Regions from separate parts of the Homo sapiens genome. Here regions 1 and 2 are each linked to region 3. Evidence: promoter capture Hi-C in 16 types of primary human blood cells and fetal thymus (Javierre and others, 2016). All regions are on one chromosome and are shown on one strand. The core of a region is centred on a gene start or on the middle of the fragment in contact, and the rest is flanking DNA. Distances in the headings are between cores, read along the strand shown. Region 1 overlaps IDH2 (isocitrate dehydrogenase (NADP(+)) 2). Region 2 has its middle 17 kb from the start of ZNF710. Region 3 holds the start of PLIN1 (perilipin 1).

The links. The method cuts DNA at HindIII sites, captures the fragments that hold promoters and counts their contacts. A CHiCAGO score of 5 or more calls a contact.
Region 1: a contact is called between a fragment that was not itself captured here and the fragment with the promoter of PLIN1 in region 3, in 1 of 17 cell types (M2 macrophages). The highest score is 5.1, in M2 macrophages.
Region 2: a fragment that was not itself captured here is called in contact with the fragment with the promoter of PLIN1 in region 3 in 1 of 17 cell types (endothelial precursors); the score reaches 5.1 in endothelial precursors.

Annotation. Positions count from the first base shown.
Region 1 is chr15:90,096,265-90,099,048 of GRCh38, reverse strand. The region is part of intron 1 of IDH2 (isocitrate dehydrogenase (NADP(+)) 2); the gene reads left to right. Among named protein-coding and RNA genes, the nearest start is that of IDH2-DT, 4.5 kb to the left of the region's middle. The HindIII fragment of the contact is 4,798 bases long and covers 1-2,784 here.
Region 2 is chr15:89,982,748-89,985,823 of GRCh38, reverse strand. No RefSeq gene overlaps it. Among named protein-coding and RNA genes, the nearest start is that of ZNF710, 17 kb to the left of the region's middle. RefSeq lists an enhancer at 2,866-3,076. The HindIII fragment of the contact is 1,566 bases long and covers 667-2,232 here.
Region 3 is chr15:89,677,857-89,680,708 of GRCh38, reverse strand. PLIN1 (perilipin 1) reads left to right here and starts at 1,342. Exons shown (of 9, transcript NM_002666.5): 1 at 1,342-1,458. The HindIII fragment of the contact is 7,659 bases long and covers 1-2,852 here.

The DNA.
Region 1 (2,784 bases), core at 46-2,545, 420 kb before region 3:
TCTGGATATATTTTGAAGGAGGAGCCAGTAGTGGGGAAAGGTTCCAATTCAGGCGATTTTACATAAAAATCTAGATACGCAGCAGGCACTCACTTATGGCAAGGGTGGGCTTGTCTGAGGGTGGCTTCTGGTTTTGGTGGTTTGGATGTGAGAGAAGGGAAGGAATGAAGGATGACACCAAGGAGTCTACTAGAGTTTGTTCCAAAATGGCTGTTCTGGCCGCGTGCGGTGGCTCCCAGGACTTTGGGAGGCCGAAGCAGGCGGATCAGTTGGGGCCAGGAGTTCGAGACCTGCCTGGCCACCATGGTGAAACCCGGTCTCTACTAAAAATACAAAAATTAGCTGGGTGTGGTGGCAGGCGCCTGTAGTCCCAGCTACTCAGGGGCTGAGGCAGGAGAATTGCCTGAACCCAGGAGGTGGAGCTTGCAGTGAGCCGAGATCACGCCACTGCCCTCCAGTGTAGGCGACAGAGTGAGACTCTGTCTCAATACATACATACATACATACATACATACATGCATGCATACATACATACATACATACATAAAATATACAAAGTTGCTGTCCTGCCTTCTTGAGCCCCCAGGAATTGGAACCTTTCCCCACTCTCTGATCTTTTGCTGGGACATGCTGACTGAGCAGCCTTTCTGCTGAGAGCATGGGTAGGAATGTGGAGGGAGCAGTTATGCCTGGGGCTGGCTGCCTGCGGCTGGACCTCTAGCCTCCTGCTGGGAGCAGCAAGAAGCCAGGGATGTGTTTTGAAATCCTTACTTGGTATTGGGTGCTAGGAGCCCCAGACAGGGAGGAGAGTCAGCCTAACGTGCCTCTGGTGACTGGTGTAATTCCATCCTGCACTCTCGCCAAGAGGACAGTGTTTGTGCAATGCATCAGCTGAAGATTCGTGGTGGCTGTCACTTCGGAGGTTTTCAGGGAGGCCTAGCTGCTGCTCTGTGTATTTCAGGTAGCTTGTCACCACTTATCTCTCAGAGAAGGGCAGACCATGGCTGTATCTCCACCATACAGGCTGAACAGCAGACAGGGGTCTCAAACTCCAGTGCCCTGGGCCACACTGGAGGGCACTTGGCTGTCATGGAGTGAAGGGAGAGGCCGCCTTCAGCCCAGCCCATCCTTGCCATGAGTGAGTGCCTGCTGCATTTCTAGATTTTTATATAAAATCTCCTGATTTTTTTTGACTGGTTTAAATTTTTATTATTTTGGTAAAAAACGTATAAAACTTACCATCTTAGTCATTGTTCAGTGTACAGTATTGTTAAGTACATTCGCACTGTTGTGCAGACATTACCACCATCCATCACCAGAACTTTGTCACCTTGCAAAACCGAAACTCTCTACCCATGAAACAATACCTCCCCACTTCCCGTCCCCAGTCCCTGGCAGCCACCTTTTTACTTTCTGTTTCTATGAATTTGACTATTCTAGGTACCTCATGTAAGTAGAAGCATATAGTATTTGTCTTTTGTGACTGGTTTATTTCACTTAGTTAGCATAATGCCCCCCAGGTTCATCCACTTTGTAGCAGGTGTCAGAATTTCCCTTCTTTTCAAGGCTGAATCATATTCCATTGTATGTAGATAACAGTAGTCCCCCTTATCCTTGGAGGATGCATTTCAAGATCCCCAGTGGATACCTGAAACTGCAAAGCCTGTAGATACTATGTTTTTTTCCTATACATACAGATCTATGATAAAGTTTAATTTATGAATTAGGAACAGTAAGAGATTAGCAATAATAACTAGTAATAAAATAGAACAATTATAACAATATACTGTAATGAAAGTTACATGAATGTGATCTCTTAAAATATCTTACTGTACTGTACTCACCTATTTTCAGACTATGGTTGACTGTGGGTAACTGACACCACAGGTAACTGACGTCATGGAAATAAAACCTTTGATAAGGGGGGACTGTATCACATTGTCTTTATCCATTCATCTGTGATGGACACGTGGGTTGCTTCTATCTTTTGCTGTTGTGAACATTGCTGCTATGAATGTGGGCATACATATATCTCTTTCAGACCCCGCTTTCGATATTTTTGGATGTATATACAGAAGCAGAATTGCTGGATCATATAGTAATTCTTGTCCTTTTCTTTTCTTTTTTTTTTTCGAGACGGAGTCTTGCTCTCTTTCGCCCATGCTGGAGTGCAGTGGCGCGATCTCAGCTCACTGCAAGCTCCGCCTCCCGGGTTCATGCCATTCTCCTGCCTCAGCCTCCCCAGTAGCTGGGACTACAGGCGCCTGCCACCACGCCTGGCTAATTTTTTGTATTTTTAGTAGAGTCAGGGTTTCACTGTGTTAGCCAGGATGGTCTCGATCTTCTGACCTCGTGATCCACCCGCCTCAGCCTTCCACAGTGCTGGGATTACAGGTGCGAGCCACCGTGCCCGGCAGTAATTCTTTTCCTTTTAGCTAAGGAACACCCATACTGTTTTCCACAGCAGCTGCACCATTTCACATTCCCACCAACAGGGCACAAGAGTTCCAATTTCTCCACATCCTTGCTAGCACTTTATTTTCTGTTTTGTTTTTCTTTTCCTGATAGTAGCTCTCTTAGTGGTTGTGAGGGGATAGTGGGGTGATATCTCATTATGGTTTTGATTTGCATTTCCCTGATGATTAGTGATGTTGAGCATCTTTTCATGTGCTTGTTGGCCATTTGTATATCATCTTTGGACTTGAAATGTCTATTTAAGTCTTTTGTCCATTATATTTATTTATTTATTTTGAGATGGAGTCTTCCTGTTACCCAGGCTGGAGT
Region 2 (3,076 bases), core at 200-2,699, 310 kb before region 3:
GACAAAATTACTTTTCCTTGAACAAAAACCACACTGTCATGCCTTCTTTACAATCTTCTTTGCCAAAAACACATCCTATTTTTCTGATATGTTCTGTATAAATAATTGCTTCTCTTAGAACTAGTAGTTTTAATTCCACATATTAACTACAATTTTATCTCTTAGTAACCTTAGTTTCTAGTGAAAAACCTATAAGTTATTTTGAACTATTTTATATCATTATTTATAGATGAAAACCATTTCATAACTTTTTAGGAAGATGTTACTTCATTTTTTTTGTTTATTAACCGATCTAAATGTATTTTAGCTTTTCTATACCATATGAAAATGAGATGCTGCCCAGGCATGGCGGCTCAGGCCTGTAATCCTAGCACTTTGGGAGGCTGAGGCAGATGGATCACTTGAACTCAGGAGTTCAAGACCAGCCTGGGCAACATAGTGAAATCTTATCTCTACAAAAAACAAAAAATTAGCTGGGCGTGGTGGTGCATGCTTGTGGTCTCAGCTACTTGCAAGGCTGAGGTGGGAGGATCGCTTCAGCCAGGGAAGTGAGGTTGCAGTGAGTTGGGATTGTGCCACTGCACTCCAGCCTGGGTGACAGAGCAAGACTCTATCTAAAAAAAAAGAGAAGAAAAGAAAGAAATAAGATGCCCAAGTACATAAGCTTATGTTTAATATTTCAGTATTTTAACTTACTTAGAAATGACTTAGACATTTTATGATTACATATTCATTAATTTAAGATAAGATGACTTATAATATACAAGTACCCTCCCCAGTGTCTTCCTCAGTCATCTTGGGTCCCAAGTACCCATGTGGCACCAAGGATGGCAATGAAGGGCGAGCCCATCTCGATCCTGAATTTATATGCCAGGTGTAGAGCTTAGGATGGAGCTGTGAAGACAATGCCTGGAGGATCTGACCCTTTCCCACATGGGTAGGAAACACAGCTGGGCCAGGGAGGACATATTGGGTTTGTCTCTGCCCTGTCACTGGTGGCTTAGGTGCTATAGACATACATATGTCTTCAGGGCTTACTATGGCCACCTGTGTAGAATCCAGACTCTAAAGGTGCAAAACCAAAGACGGAAGCTCACAGTAAGATGTATGCAATGCTTCAGGGAAGCCTAGCAGCCACTCACACAGCTTTAGCTCACAAATAAATCAAGAAAGTATAAAAAAATTACAGAAGCAACAGCTGTATGACCTTAAAATATCTAGCAAAGACAGTAAAACCCGTCCAACCCATAGACCCAGGCAAAAATGTCTTAACTATATTTAATACCGACAATTCTGAAAAATCCTAATTTCATATTACCAACGATTTTAAAACTAGTTTTATTTATAAAAGATGACTAAAGTCACATGAACTTAAAAAGCATTTGGTAGCCAGGCATGGTGGCATGTACCTGTAGTCCTAGCTACTCAGGAGGCTGAAGCAGGGGATCACTTGAGCCCAGAAGTTCAAAGATGCAGCAAGCTATGATCACATCACTGCATACCAGCCTGCGTGACAGAGTGAGACCCTGTCTCAAAAAAAGAAAGAACAAAAGAAAGAAAGAATGAAGGAAAGAAGGAAGGAAGGAAGGAGAGTGAGAAAGAAAGAAAGAAAGAAAGAAAGAAAGAAAGGAAGGAAGAAAGAGAAAGAAAGAAAGAAAGAAAGAAAGGGAGAGAAGAAAGGCATTTGGATTTACGTATTTAATTTATGAACATTCATTTATTACAAGTCAACTTGGAACCATGTAGACAGTATACAAACAAAGACATGTATGCTGTATACATAAAAAATACAGACAGGCCAGGTGGGTGGCTCATGCTTGTAATCGCAGCACTTTGGGAGGCTGGGGCTGGAGGATCACTTGAGCCCAAAATTTGAGGCTAGCCTGGCCAACATAAGGAGATCCCATCTCTACAAAAATAATTTTTAAAAATATCAGCTGGGTGTGGGTGGTGCTCATCTATTGTCCCAGCTACTTGGGAGGCTAGGGTGGGAGGACTGCCTGAGCCCAGAAAGTCAAGGTACTCCAGCCTGGGTGACACAGTGAGACTTTGTCTCAAAAAACCAACAAACAAAAAATCCAAAACAAACAAACAAAAAAAACCTACACAGACACAAAAATAATGATGTTAATGCTTTTACTTAAAGTTTTAGCCATAAAACTGGTAAAACTCACTAGTTTAAAAGGACAGTTGGATTAAATTGTGCCTTGTTAAATGGAGTAAGTTAAAGCTTATTGAAGCCCTTGTCAAGTTTTTGAGAAAACAGAGTAGCAAACTTGCATCTCAATGCACAGAGAGAATTTAAACATTTTCAGGGAGTTTGGGTGTATTAGAAGAAGATTAAAAATGGATGCCAAAGCCAGGTGTGGTGTCTCACACCTGTAATCCCAGCACTGTGGGAGGCGGAAGTGGGCAGATCACCTGAGGTCAGGAGTTCCAGACCAGCCTGGCCAACATGGTGAAACCCCATCTCTATCAAAAATACAAAAATTAGCCGGGTTTGATGGCAGGCGCCTGTAATCCCAGCTACTCGGGAGGCTGAGGTAGGAGGATCACCAGAATCAGGGAGGCGGAGGTTGCAGTGAGTGGAGATCACACCACTACACTCCAGCTGGGCGACAGAGCGAGACTCCGTCTCAAATAAATAAATAAACCCACAAAGACAACTTACCTTCATGCATCTTTCAGTTTGGAACGGGAATTAGTCAGAAATTCAAAGACAAGTCTGAATTACAATCAATAGGAGGGCTGCAATTTTAAAAGCAATGCTACATTATTTTCTGCCAAGAGAGGTGAAACCACCAGCACCTGACAGCCGATAACTGGATCCTTTTGCCCTGAAGCAGAGTTGGAGAAGGCAGAAGTCCTCAGCAGAGCTCTTTTCCTGAATCTTCTGTGTAGAGACAGAGACCAAAGCCCTGATTCTTAAATGAAAGAGAGGGTTTGAAATTACTGGAGTCAAAGGAACACAATAGAGTGAGGCTGGCACCCAGCACTGAGTCTCAGAGGGAACACTGGGTAGTCAGTGGCGGTCACTCTGAATCCTGTGGATCTGTGCCAGATACGTTAACTTACA
Region 3 (2,852 bases), core at 93-2,592:
GGCAGAGCTTTCAGGCACAAAGCCCTATGTTCCCTCTGGCCCAAAGCCACTACTCTGAAGGCTGAAAACTGCCCTTTGGCTCAGGTTGCTGTCCAGTCACAGCCTCACAGATAATTTGTGCTGAACCTTGAGGTGAGGGCAGAGGCCACTTCTTTAAATACTTTGTCTTCTCTACTGCCTTACATTTGAAAAGCACAGGTTGGATCAATAAGTATTAAACGTATAGCGTATTACTCCTTTGAAGCCTCCCTGCTTGACTCCTCCCTTTCCTGCCTTCTCATTCCCTACTTTATTGCATCACAGATACGTAATTTATTACCAAGGATCTTTCATAATTCCCCACCCCTGCCTCTTTCTTCTCTTGCCCACACTGTGTGACTTAACAGAGTCAACAATACATATAATTCCACCAGCAACAAAGAAAATAAGTTTTGTTTTCCTATTGTCTGTTTTCATGAAGAGGCCCTTCTTAGTTAATCTGAAAGCTATGGCTTATACCATAGTCCTCCATCATATCTAAAGCCAGGAACTAGAACTTGGGCTTGTGCTTGAGTCCTGGGTAAAGAAGGGTTGAGTGGTGCTAATTCTTGGCTGTCTGGGTGCTCTTGATTAGTGATAGAATCCTAGTCAACACTGTCGCTTATCCAGACCCAGGAGAATAAAAATCTACTTGGCTCTCCTACTCTTCATTCTGGTAGCATCTTAGGCCAGGTAAAGTTCAATAAATTTTTTTGAATTCTAAGAAGTGGGAATTCCTCCCTCAACTCAAAGGCTATATTGTCAAAAACTCAACTCCCGGCTCTGTCGCTTCTTCACTGAGGGCAATTTATCTCCATAATCAAAGATGAATACATTCAGATGAACTCTTCTGTGTGGGTTTAAATTTTACTGTTCAGCATTCAGTCTTGCTAGTAAATAAGAAAAGATGAGAGAAATGGATTGAAAACTCCCACAAGACCCTCTATGGAAAAGGAGCCAAAAGATTGCAGAGGTATATAGAACTTTAGAGCTTTTGAGTTTAATGATGTCTATCCCTATACCTTCTTTCTGGAAAGCAGATTTTTGTGAATTGAGGGCAGGAACATTACAGAACTGATGCTTCATGGCTCTGGAATACTAAGTCCTCTGAGCCTGGATCTCCTTCAGCTCTGCCACCTACCTCCTTGTTTGCTAAATGTCCTTAGAGAAGTTAGGATATGCCTGGGGAACCCTGGGTCATATAACCATGACAACTGGCTGACCCTGTTGTCTCTCCCTCTCTGCCCTCCTCTAGCTGGGAGGTGGAAGCAGCATTGCCCAAGCCTCCCAGGAGTGACAGGAATTGTTTCTGCCTGAGGAGACACTCTGCAGCCTGGGCTCTGTGAGACTGAGGTGGCGGTCAGCCGGAGTGAGTGTTGGGGTCCTGGGGCACCTGCCTTACATGGCTTGTTTATGAACATTAAAGGGAAGAAGTTGAAGGTAAGGGCCTCTTGGGGATTTTGCTGGGGATGAAAAACTCTGCAGGGAAACTACTGAGGGAGAGATTCTGGTATAGATACCAGAATCTAGAAATAGAGGAATTGGATAGGCACAGTGGATCATGCCTTTAATCCCAGCACTGCAGGTGGCCAAGGCAGGTGGATCACTTGAGCCCAGGAGTTCAAGAACAACCTGGGCAACACAGTGGGATCCTGTCTCTATAAAAAAAGAGAAAAAATTAGCCCTGCATTGTGGTGCATGCCTGTAGTCCCAGCTACATGAGAGGCTGAGGTGGGAGGGTACCTTGATCCCAGGAGGTCAAGGCTGCATTGAGCCATGATCGTGCCACCACATTCCATCCTGGGCAACAGATTGAGACCCTGTCTCAAAAAACAGATAGGGAGAGGGGGAGAGGGACAGACAGAGAGAAAGAGAGAAATAGAGGAATTAACCCAGAGCCTTTTCAAAGATGAAACCTTTAACTTGTTTATTTATTTTTTTAGAGATGGGCATCTCACTGTATTGCCGAGGCTGATCTCAAACTCCTGGGCTCAAGCAATTCTCCCATGTCAGCCTCAGTAGCTGGGATTACAGGTGCTTGCCAGTGCACCCAGCTTGAAACTTCTTGTTTTAGTCTCTTTTGGACCCTCATTTAAGAGCCTTAAGATTTTATCTAAAACTTTTTATCTCTTATGGCTACCTGCATTTTTTATTTCCTAACCTGAACTCCTTTTTTTTTTTGAGACAGAGTCTCCCTCTGTCACCCAGGCTGGAGTGCAGTGGCAGGATCTCAGCTCACTGCAACCTCCACCTCTCAGGCTCAAGCGATCCTCCTGCCTCAGCCTCCCAAGTAGCTGGGATTACAGCTGCCCACCACCACGTCTGGCTAATTTTTGTATTTTTAGCAGAGACGGAGTTTCACCATGTTGCCCAGGCTGGTCTTGAACTCCTGAACTCAGGTGATCTGCCTGCCTTGGACTCCCAAAGTGCCGGGATTACAGGCCTGAGCCACCGCGCCTGGCCTCTTAACCTGAACTCTTATAGGAAACATTATTCTTGGCCGGGCATGGTGGCTCTTGCCTGTAATCACAGCACTTTGGGAGGCCAAGGTGGGCAGATCACTTGAGGCCAGGAGTTCGAGACCAGCCTGGCCAACATGATGAAACCCCATCTCTACTAAAAATACAAAAATTAGCCAGTGTGGTGGTTCATGCCTGTAATCCCAGCACTTTGGGAGGTCTAGGCAGGTGGATCACTTGAGGTCAGGAGTTCGACACCAGCCTAGCCAACATGGTGAAACCCCATCTCTACTAAACAGAAAAAAAAAAAAAAACTAGCCGGGCGTGGTGGTGGGCGCCTGTAATCCCAGCTACTTGGGAGGCTGAGGCAGGAGA